Linked DNA regions of Homo sapiens: region 2 is linked to region 1. Evidence: promoter capture Hi-C in human tissues and cell types (Jung and others, 2019). All regions are on one chromosome and are shown on one strand. The core of a region is centred on a gene start or on the middle of the fragment in contact, and the rest is flanking DNA. Distances in the headings are between cores, read along the strand shown.

Region 1 (6,021 bases), core at 3,153-5,652:
TGATCTTTGCTGCACACAGCAGCCAGCCTCAGTGGTGTAGTTTGTGCTTCCTCCTCCCTCCGAACGCCTAAATTGCGGCACCAAAGAGGCCGCAATGACTGGTGAGCAAGACTCCTCTTCCTCATATTTTGTGAGGAAGGAAGCTGGCAAGACTATGAATTTGTGTACATTTATAAATTGTGTTCCTGTTACACATGGTTATTAAAAACATGCTTGATCTGTTCAGTTTCTGAATATCTGAACTAATTCAGCTCATTAAGGGAATTTGTATACTTAGGTCAACAGCTTCTACAGAGGCGTTGCCTTGACGCCATCTAGTGGCAATATAGGCACAATTCTGAGAAGCATTTTAAAAAGTCTTGAGTACAGGAATACAGGTTTGCAAGAGAGATGTAGAATAGGGGATGGAAGATGGAACTGTACTGAGTCTGGTAGCAGGACAGGGTGATTTTTTGGGGGAAAGTGCCAGGTTTTGGAAACCAATGCTTGTTCTTTGTTTCATTCTTTTTAATATTCTTATTATAGACTGCTCTGTTGACGCTGAGTGTAAAGCCATAACTTGCCCCTATGAGCGTCTCTTTGGATGCTTGCATCCCGCTTGATGTTTCATCAGCTTTCTTTTCTTGGTTCAGGTACTGCTAAAGTAGCTGAGGGCTCAGAACAGTGGGGAATAGGAGCATGAATGCAAGAGACTTTGGTAGAAAGAATTATGGTAGTATTATGGCAGACACATTTTGGTTGTGTCAAAATTAAAAACCATAGTGTTACTCTGGTAAAGAGGATGGCACTGAGGCTGTTACTCTCCACATACACCCCTTCATTGCAGCTCTTGGTGTGGATGCCGATAGGCTGAACAGTTCTGTGTGGAGATGAAGTAGCAGCCGTGGTTCACAGATTTCTCTCCTGCCTCACCTCTCCTAGAATTTATTATTCAGCAGTTGATATTTATCCTGTCTTCTCCTTGTTTTTGCTTGTTTGCTCACCCTATCCTTCCCTTTGTTTTCATTGTCATTGCAGTAAGCCTTTGCATAGGTGTAAATATGGCTCTCATGTTTATATATTCAAATTTCAAACATATTGAAACCATTAATTATTTGCCTCACCCACCAGAACATAAGCTGCATGAGAGCAGCAACTTTGTTTCTTTCCATTGTATCCCAAGAGCTTGGAACAGTGGACTGGCACATAGTAGTCATTAATAAATATTGGTTAAATAATTGATAAATGTCATGCTTTCCCTTTTTTTTTTTTTTTTTTTTTTTTTGAGACGGAGTCTCTCTCTGTTGCCCAGACTAGAGTGCAATGGCATGATCTCGGCTCACTGCAATCTCCACCTCTCGGGTTCAAGTGATTCTCCTGCCTCAGCCTCCTGAGTAGCTGGGACTACAGGTGTGTGCCACCATGCCCGGCTAATTTTTGTATTTTCAGTAGAGATGGGGTTTCACCATGTTGGCCAGGCTGGTCTCGAATTTCTAACCTCAAGTGATCCACCCGCCTCGGCCTCCCGAAGTGCTGGGATTATAGGCGTGAGCCACCGCGCCCGGCCCATGCTTTCCCTTTTTATAACATGAGGTACCTTGCATTTGCCACTGTTAAATTCTCAGACTGTCTTACTTAGGTTTTGTGGAGTTAGGTCGGGTGGAAGTAGGATTTCAGGAGACTGTGCTCTAGGCTGTCTGGATTTTAGTTCTTTCCTTCGGAAGGCCATTCTGTAATTGTGTCTCTGTACCTAATGTCAGATCCCAGGCCAGTGTCAGGTAGATGTAAGTGACGGTGGGACCGTTACCTTCAAGAACGTTTCTTCTGGTCACAGCTGTAACATCTTTACCAGAGAAGGGATTTCAGACAGTAACAAAACTGAGTGGTGAGAAGTGAAATGCTCTGCCATAATACTGATACCGTCCCCAGGGATTCTGACACAGCCAGCAGCAGTACGTGTTCATCAGCACTGAAGCAGGGCACCTCCTGATTCAGCAGAGAGACCCTCCCCTCCCCAGCCATGTTGGCGGCTGCCCTAGGATTGCTGATGCCCATTGCAGGGGCTGAATTTCTCATTGGCCTGGTTGGAAATGGAGTCCCTGTGGTCTGCAGTTTTAGAGGATGGGTCAAAAAAATGTAAGGAGTCCCTATAAATTCTCATGATTCTGGTAAGTAGCCACTTTCTCCTACTCAGGCCGATCATGTTGGACATAAGTCTGTTTCCACTTTCCCAGAGCAGTGGTTGGCTTTACTATCTTAATGTCTTCGAGTCCTGGTAAGCCAGGCCAACATGTAGTTTGCCACTTTCTTCAGTGGCTTCTGCTGCATGGAGATCATGACCTTTGTCCCGCTGACTTCTTGTAGCTGAAAAGACTGGGTTTTTGTTTTTTGCTAGTGTCTTTCAAGATCACTTTTTATTTCTCAGCTCTTGTTGGCTGGACCCTTTAAAAACCCTTAACAGGAAACAGCAACATCCTGCATCCCATTTTAAATCTGTTATTTTTATAGATTGCTGTCCAGTGAAGGAGACTGATTGCTATTTGTGATGTTTCTGTTCCACTTGTCTTTTTGTAAAGACATCACAGGAAGATGGAGGACCACACAGCTGTCAGGAGGAGGCTCAAACCAAGGTGCTCATCGCTCTGAACTTCCCCCTTTACATGGTTTCTGCCTTGGCCAGACACTTTTCCATGACCTTCTAATCTCCCTCTGATCTCACCATTCTTGCCATCTCTGCAACACTCATGGCTGTTTATACTTCATTTCCGTCTATTGTAATGGTTATGAGGAATCAGACTTGTCAGAGAATTCTGTAGGAGATGATATGTACATGGAAATCCTAGAGGCCATGACTTGGAAGAAGGATCTAATCAGGCCCTTAACTGTATCACTGACAACAGTAAAAATAACTGTAGATTTTAGAAAAATGAAATTTTTATTCTCAATTCTCCTCATTTCTTCTTTGATTTTGAAACAAAATGAAAGGGTAACATGAAAAACAGGCTAGAAACTGGAGCTTATTGCTCTCTAAGCAATGCAAATCACATCATTTTAATAAACTACAGAAGTCAAAACCGAGTTTTCATATTTTGCATGGGAAGTATCACATTTTTAAAAATTACTGCAGATAATCAAGTTTTCTTTGCCAATATGCTATGTTTTTGATAAAAGGAAGTAGAAAATAGCTATAGTTTGAAAATAATATATTTTAAAAAGAGGTGAGCCTGTATATTTTTTAGGCAAGCACTTTTCTTAGGGGAATTAGCTAAATTATTATCTCAATTTTCTATGTAGTTTAGCCTCTCAACACCGGTAGTAAAGTAGTCAAAAACCTACCTTTATATTTCTGGATACTTTGGTTTTTTTGATGCCAGACTAGCTTTCTGGAAACGTGTCAGTTGGCTACCAGGATCGGTGGCAAATTCCACTGCCAGGCTAGATTGGGGCAGGTGGGGAGAGAGAGGCACTATGTCTCTATCAGAAAGTCACTGAAGAAACACTGTTTTTGGACGAGTTCAAGCCTCATCTAGATTTTTAGTCCAGTAGAAGATCGCGACCACCTCTGCCCCTCCATAGCCTACAGCCAGAGTTTTAGAGTACCAGGCCTTGCAGCTTGGTGGAGATGATGTACAATGGATGCTACCTGGAGGCAGGGACTGTGTATTATAATGGCGCCGTCCCCTGTGCCTAGTACACCGTAGTTTGACACAAAATAAGCACTTTGTAAATTTAGTCCGAAGGAATGGAAATCTCATCCTACAATCCATTCAGTTATTAATAGAGCAACTGAGGCCCAGAGACGGGCAGTGGCCTGCCTGCCTACAGCTTCGTAGAGAGTTCTCAGCATGCTTACTTTTTTTTTTTGAGATGGAGTCTTGCTCTGTCGCCCAGGCTGGAGTGCAGTGGCGCGATCTTGGCCCACTGCAGCTTCCATCTCCTGGGTTCAAGTGGTTCTCCTGCCTCAGCCTCCCGAGTAGCTGGGACTACAGGCAGCCACCACCACGCCCAGATAATTTTTGTATTTTTAGTAGAGATGGGGCTTCACCATGTTGGCCAGGGTGGTCTCGAACTCCTGGCTTCAGGTGATCCACCCGCCTTGGCCTCTCAAAGTGTTGGGATTACAGGTGTGAGCCACCATGCCTGGCCCAGTGTTCTTTTCATGAAAATAAAATTTCTTTTTTTATATAGCATATGAGCTCATAACTGGCACTGTATAGCACCTGAGCATGTTTTGATTTGGTCTTTCTTGTTGAGGGGCCTTGTTACGTTATACCCTGGTGTCTAGACTTTGGCCCAAAACCTTTGAGATGGAGAGCCGGTGTCTGTGGTACTGTTTGCAATCTCTGGTTCTACACTCAGGGTTCATTCATGTAGATGCAAATACAGATGGTATCATAACTTCCAACCTCTCTGTTCCTCATCACAGCTGTTCAGTCTCGCTTGAAGACAGATTACGGAAGGACGAGGCCAAATCCAGATTTTGTGGTGTGAAAATTTACCCTGGTGTGTTATCACTACCAGGGGATCTGACCTCAGCCAGGAGCAGTGAGAGCCTCCTCTCCCCAGCCATGCTGAGCGCTGGCCTAGGACTGCTGATGCTGGTGGCAGTGGTTGAATTTCTCATCGGTTTAATTGGAAATGGAAGCCTGGTGGTCTGGAGTTTTAGAGAATGGATCAGAAAATTCAACTGGTCCTCATATAACCTCATTATCCTGGGCCTGGCTGGCTGCCGATTTCTCCTGCAGTGGCTGATCATTTTGGACTTAAGCTTGTTTCCACTTTTCCAGAGCAGCCGTTGGCTTCGCTATCTTAGTATCTTCTGGGTCCTGGTAAGCCAGGCCAGCTTATGGTTTGCCACCTTCCTCAGTGTCTTCTATTGCAAGAAGATCACGACCTTCGATCGCCCGGCCTACTTGTGGCTGAAGCAGAGGGCCTATAACCTGAGTCTCTGGTGCCTTCTGGGCTACTTTATAATCAATTTGTTACTTACAGTCCAAATTGGCTTAACATTCTATCATCCTCCCCAAGGAAACAGCAGCATTCGGTATCCCTTTGAAAGCTGGCAGTACCTGTATGCATTTCAGCTCAATTCAGGAAGTTATTTGCCTTTAGTGGTGTTTCTTGTTTCCTCTGGGATGCTGATTGTCTCTTTGTATACACACCACAAGAAGATGAAGGTCCATTCAGCTGGTAGGAGGGATGTCCGGGCCAAGGCTCACATCACTGCGCTGAAGTCCTTGGGCTGCTTCCTCTTACTTCACCTGGTTTATATCATGGCCAGCCCCTTCTCCATCACCTCCAAGACTTATCCTCCTGATCTCACCAGTGTCTTCATCTGGGAGACACTCATGGCAGCCTATCCTTCTCTTCATTCTCTCATATTGATCATGGGGATTCCTAGGGTGAAGCAGACTTGTCAGAAGATCCTGTGGAAGACAGTGTGTGCTCGGAGATGCTGGGGCCCATGATCTGGGAAGAAAAGTGTGGTCAGGACACTCTTGGGACGCTCTTTTGATAGCTCTCTATAAGGGAGCTGCTTTCCATGTCTTTTAAGATTTTCCTTCTTTTACACCAATGTAATGAATGAGCAACAGAAAATACGGATCAAAACCCAATACTATGTCTCTTTTGGCAATGCAAAGTATATTTTTTTAATGTACCACAGAAATCAAGGCTAGGGCTTCATGTTTGGTAAAAGAGGTATTATATTCTCTCTACATATAGCAAATAATTCATATATAAATCGTGTTTTTCCTATTATAAAAAGCAGAGATTAGGAACAATTCTGTCTACATATAGCAAAAATTCATATATAAATTGTGTTTTTCCTAGTATAGAAAACAGAGATTAGGAACAATTATAGTGATCATTAATTTTTATGAAATTTTACCTATACATTAATGTTAGTCATTTTAGATATGCTTTTTAAAAAGTATCAAATAATTTCCCCATTTCTCTGCTGTAATGTATCTAATTATCTAACTGAAAAACAAAACAAAACATCTTTATATTTCTGGAAGTTTCTTTGAGCCCTAGCCTTGG
Region 2 (5,350 bases), core at 2,795-5,294, 780 kb before region 1:
ATCATTTACCATACCTAGTGACTACGTGAAAATAATCTTGTTTTTCTATGGATAACTATTTTTCCCTGTCCCCAAAGATAGTTAAGTCTTTATTTTTCAAACAAACAGACAGCAGCAGCAAAAAGATCAATTAAAATAACTGAATGTGATTTTTTCATGGGTTATAATCTTCTCCTCAGGATATCTGCCTCCCAATATTTTATTTTGGGTTATAATAAAATTAGTTTTTATTTTCTGAGCCCAGACTAATGGCAAGAGAGGTAGTCCCAAAGCAATTCCAAACATTCAAAACATGTCATAGATTGTAACCTCTAATGTTAACCAAGCACATCTATTATGTTCACTGCTGTTCCCCTAGTGCCATCTTAAGTGCCTGCACGTGGAAGGTACGTAAGAAATATCCACTGGATAGTGAATGTACCAATCTTTAGTGATCTGCAATGAATGTTGTGCTGTACTATTAATTCTATTGTATTAGAATAAATGGTTCCCAATAATTTTAGTATTGTTGCCCAAAGACAACTCCAATTACAACTTGTTAAATTTTTAAAAAGATGGTAGGTATTTTAACTTTATACAATTATGTACTATTTGAATTCTTTTGTAATGGGCATGTATTAGTTTGGTAATTAAAAAAATAATTTTTTTTTTTTTTTTTGAGACCGAATCTCGCTCTGTTGCTGGAGTGCAGTGGCACGATCTCGGCTCACTGTAACCTCTTCCTCCTGAGTTCAAGCGATTCTCCTGCCTCAGCCTCCCAAGTAGCTGGGATTACAGGCATGTGCTACCACACCCAGCTAATTTTTGTATTTTTAGTAGAGACGGGGTTTCACCATGTTGGCCAGGCTGGTCTTGAATTCCTGACCTCAAGTGGTCTGCCCGCCTTGGCCTCTCAAAGCGCTGGGATTACAGCTGTGAGCTATCATACCTGGCCAAAAAAATAATTTAATGAGAAAGATCACACAGGTATTTGATTTTTTTTTTTTTTTGAGATAGAGTCTTGCTTTGTCACCCAGGCTGGAGTACAGTGGCATGATCTTGACTCACTGCAACCTCCATCTCCTGGGTTCAAGCAATTCTCTTGCCTCAGCCTCCCAAGTAGCTGGAATTACAGGCGTGTGCCACCACGCCCAGCTAATTTTTGTATTTTTAGTAGAGACGGGGTTTCACCATGTTGGCCAGGCTGGTCTCAAACTCCTGACCTCAGATGATCTGTCTGCCTCGGCCTCCCAAAGCACTGGGATTATAGGCCTGAGCCATTGTGCCTGGCCTGATCTTTTTTTTTTTTTCAGAGATGCACACAGTTCTAAGCACCTACTCCCTAGACATACACACACATACAAACACATGGTGTTAAGAACCTGTGTGATTTACGTATTATCCTTAAAGGCAAACTACAGCTTATCTAGACCAAATTAATATGTCAAAAAGGGTACAAAATAAAAATGCCAGAAGACAGTAGGAAGAAATGTCAACAAAAATGCCACCAGAAGAGAAAGAAGGCTCCCACATACCAGTTAAGCAGCAGATCAGGTGTCGGTCAGGGACTCTGTTCATCTGATAACAAGAGCCCACTGCCCTGGCAACCTTGGTGTTTCTGAGGCTTTCTTCCTCAGTACTTGGACCAGTTTTTCTCTGCATTGTTTTTTTTTTTTTTTTCTCGAGATGGAGTCTCACTCTGTTGCCAGGCTGGAGTGCAGTGGCGCGATCTCGGCTCACTGCAACCTCCGCCTCCCAGATTCAAGCAATTCTCCTGCCTTAGCCTCCCGAGTAGCTGGGACTACAGGCGTGCACCACCATGCCCAGCTAATTTTTGTATTTTTAGTAGAGACAGAGTTTCACCAAGTTGGCCAGGATGGTCTTGATTTCTTGACCTCGTGATCTGCCTGCCTCGGCCTCCCAAAGTGCTGGGATTACAAGCGTGAGCCACTGCGCCTGGCCTCTTGGCATCCTTTTTAGAGTGCTCTTAGATTAACAAATGATTAAACACCTCTCTACAGCTCAGTATCTATTCAACATTAGTCATGTTGTAGACATAATTAAAATATATCTTCCAACAAGCATGAATTTCCTTTTTTTTTTTGGTCTCTCCATTATGGGTATTTTGAAAGAAGACTTTCTCCTGCCAACTGTACCTTTTGAACTACCTGGGCTCTATTATAAGAACAAAACTACAAGGATAGAAAGGCTAATTTTTTTCCTTTTCTGATCTACTGAAAAAAAGTCTCTCATAGGTCCCTCTTTGTGTTTGTCATCACCTGTAGAGTCCAAGAAATCGGAGCGTCTGCATGAGTTCAGCGTAAGTGTGGTGATTTGGATACCAATCATAAGTCTCCTTCTTCTTGGCCAAGGGCAGTTCACTAAACAGTTTCACCACTTTCATAGACTTGGAATTAGTAGGCCTGGTGACTTCACCAAATAGCCGGGCACTGAGACGAGACATGCGGAAGGCATATTCTGAAAGGGAGGACATTTCTTGAGTGGCAAGGAGTTAGAGTTCCTATTGAAAATGAGAAGAAAGTTAAACAGGTTAGGGTAAGAAATTCCAAGATTAGCTAATGAATAAGTTAGAAAATGCAAACACAGCAAGCCACTCATGGATCAGTGCAGTGTTGGCAGGATATGCCTTGGAGTGGAGAAGTATCCACAGTCCAAATGGCTATTTCCTTTCCATGCTTTACAGCTGCGATTTTTGCACTTCGTGTTTACATGCTATTACTTCCTTGCTGTATTGCCTCCTTTGCAACCAACTATTTTGTGATTCACCAGGTTATTTACTGACAGTCAGTTTACCTATTTGTAGGCTGGGGATGAAGAAGACAGGGAAACAAGTTATCCTAATCCAGCATCATTATACCTTCAGAAAACACCCACCTAAGCAATCTGCAGCATTAATATGCTGACTGCTTGCCATCAAAAGGTGTAATCATGGCAGAGACATAATTATGTTGTCTTTACTATCAGTCCTTTGAACACTGTTCTCCTCAAGGGCTCCAGAAGGCTCTGAGAGCTGCTAATGAGTTATGAGGTCATTTGGCTTCTAGGTTACTGAACTGAATTTTGCCTAGAGACTGAGAGCCATTTGGGAAAAACAGACAGTAGCCCTATAAAAATAAATCCAATAGCTCAAAAGATCCATTTTCTTACTAAATAGAAGGCACGTATGAATTGTAAGGTTACTTGCTGTATCCTCCATCTTATATATTCTGCTTTAATGCAAACTACCTAAGTTCTTATCAGCTGGAAACAGTAGCTTTTTCTTCAGAGACATACAACACTGAAATGGGTATAAGAATGATATCCGTGATATGCACGAATTACAGCTAACAGACATAAAAAACTATACAGGGGATACATAAAAATCAAGAAAGCTGCTGGTGGAATAACTATCTCAACTCAGTTTAGACCAGACGTAGGGGTTATTGTTGGCAGAATATGCCAATTTATGAGAAATTTTAGTAGTGAGATGAGAATCTTTGCTGACTCAGAGACTATCCTGGGAAACAGTTCAGCTGAGATGAAAAGGTGCTGATATTCAAGCAGGAAAAAGGCATAAACTTTGAAAAACCAATGGGAGAAATGTACCAAAAACCCTCCTACATAAAAATGGTGCCAAGTGAATTTCAAAATAGTTCTTGTAAGAAAACAAACCGTGTTTAAATTAAGGAAGTTTTAATGCCTGTTTCAAGATCCATTAACAGAGGAGGCTGGGCATGGTAGCTCATGCCTATAATCCCAGTACTTTGAGAGGCTGAGGTGGGAGGATCGCTTGAGGTCAGGACTTCAAGACCAGCCCAGGCAACATGGAGAAATCTTGTTTTTACAGAAAAAAAAACAAAAAACAAAAGAAAATAAGAAAATTAGTCTGCTATGGTAGTGCACACCTGTAGTTCCAGCTACTCGTGGAGGCTGAGGAGGGGGACATCACTTGAGCACAGGAGTTTGAGGTTACACTAAGTTATGACTGCACTACTGTACTCTATAGCCTGAGTGACAGAGCAAGATTGTGTGTCAAAAAAAAAAAAAAAAAAAAAGCAGAGGCTGATCTCAAACCACTGTCAACCTCAAAACCATTCAGAACACCAACCAAGCAATTTTGGGTCAATAGTGCCACCTGAAGGCTGGCAACGGTAGAACTGTCAGATCCAACGTCCACCCCTCCCTCCCCACCATCTGCAGATCACCTACAAGCCTGTTCTTCCTTTTCCATTCAGCATTCTCAGTTTCCTGATTCACTTCTTTGCCAACTCTGGTTGGGGGTGGGGTTGTTAGGACTAGGGTTATAGTCTCAAGGTGAAAAAAATTCATTTAGCAGTTTAATGTATAAACAAATCAGTGCCATAAACCTCTAAAAAGCCTTGCAAATGTCCAGAGTCACCTAGTTTCTTTGCATGCTTTTTCTCTTCCTTTGCCCTTTAAAGTTACCTTTTTCCAAACATTAGATTAAAAAACAATAGTTGCTTCATCAACTTTGCTTTGTTTGCTTAATTACCATTGTGGCATCAGAATATATTTCTGCTGTAATTGCACAGTATTTCCACAGTTAGTTATCTGTAAGCTGGTATGGGAACTATCAGTTTGTTACAGTGTTTTCAGGAAAATCTGTTCTGAATTCCAAGTCCCTTTATTTGTCAATGAAGAGGCAACAGGGATTCCTGAGGCCTAGGTTTGACTACTGGCTCTGTCACTTAATCCTTGGGTTATTGTGAACAGTTACTCATCTTCTCTGAGTCTCCTTTTCTGAAAACAAAGCTTGCATGACTAGTGCGAAAATGAGTAACAGTGGCACTGAGTAGTAAATGGTAACTTACAAAAAAGAACGAGCCCAGATCTGTAAGTTTGGTTTTCATATATTCTACATAGACACATTTGTTTATTCCTTGTTCTTAATCATGTTTAAGAAAAAAAAAAAAAGAGAGAGAGACAGACAGATAGATACTCCATATAGTAAAAACTTTGTGCCTCCCTGGAATGATGACCTCATTTACAAAGACTGACAGCCAGAGAAACATAGGGAGAGGACCAGCACCTTGATAACTTGACAAGATAGCCAGGAGGAGGAAGGGACTCAGTAGGACAGTAGTCACTGAAGCCATCACAGGATGCTGCTGTTATGTCCATGCCCATTTTGGAATGTGGCAAATTACTGGGATACATAACTTGTAAGTAAAAAGGTCACACTAGAATAGGCTGGAACATGGTTATATCATAAAATCCAAGTCCTAAAGTTTTATGACAGAGAAAGGGAATAAGCCTTTTCAAACCTGAATCCCTTACTAGAAACAAAGGCCCACTTGCTAAACAGGAGGAAACTGAAAGTGGTTTTAACAATTACCAATGACACTGCTTT

The links. The method cuts DNA at HindIII sites, captures the fragments that hold promoters and counts their contacts. A contact is called where the count stands out against the background at its distance.
Region 2: a fragment that was not itself captured here is called in contact with the fragment with the promoter of TAS2R5 in region 1 in 1 of the 25 tissues and cell types used here (mesenchymal stem cells).

What each region holds. Positions count from the first base shown.
Region 1 is chr7:141,785,815-141,791,835 of GRCh38, forward strand. TAS2R5 (taste 2 receptor member 5) reads left to right here and starts at 4,403. Exons shown (of 1, transcript NM_018980.3): 1 at 4,403-5,553. The coding sequence starts at 4,548. The coding sequence ends at 5,447. It also overlaps the pseudogene TAS2R6P. The HindIII fragment of the contact is 8,730 bases long and covers 1,024-6,021 here.
Region 2 is chr7:141,008,161-141,013,510 of GRCh38, forward strand. It overlaps MRPS33 (mitochondrial ribosomal protein S33), which reads right to left. Exons shown (of 3, transcript NM_053035.3): 2 at 2,259-2,500. The coding sequence starts at 2,473. Among named protein-coding and RNA genes, the nearest start is that of MRPS33, 4.1 kb to the right of the region's middle. RefSeq lists an enhancer at 5,231-5,300. The HindIII fragment of the contact is 3,521 bases long and covers 2,285-5,350 here.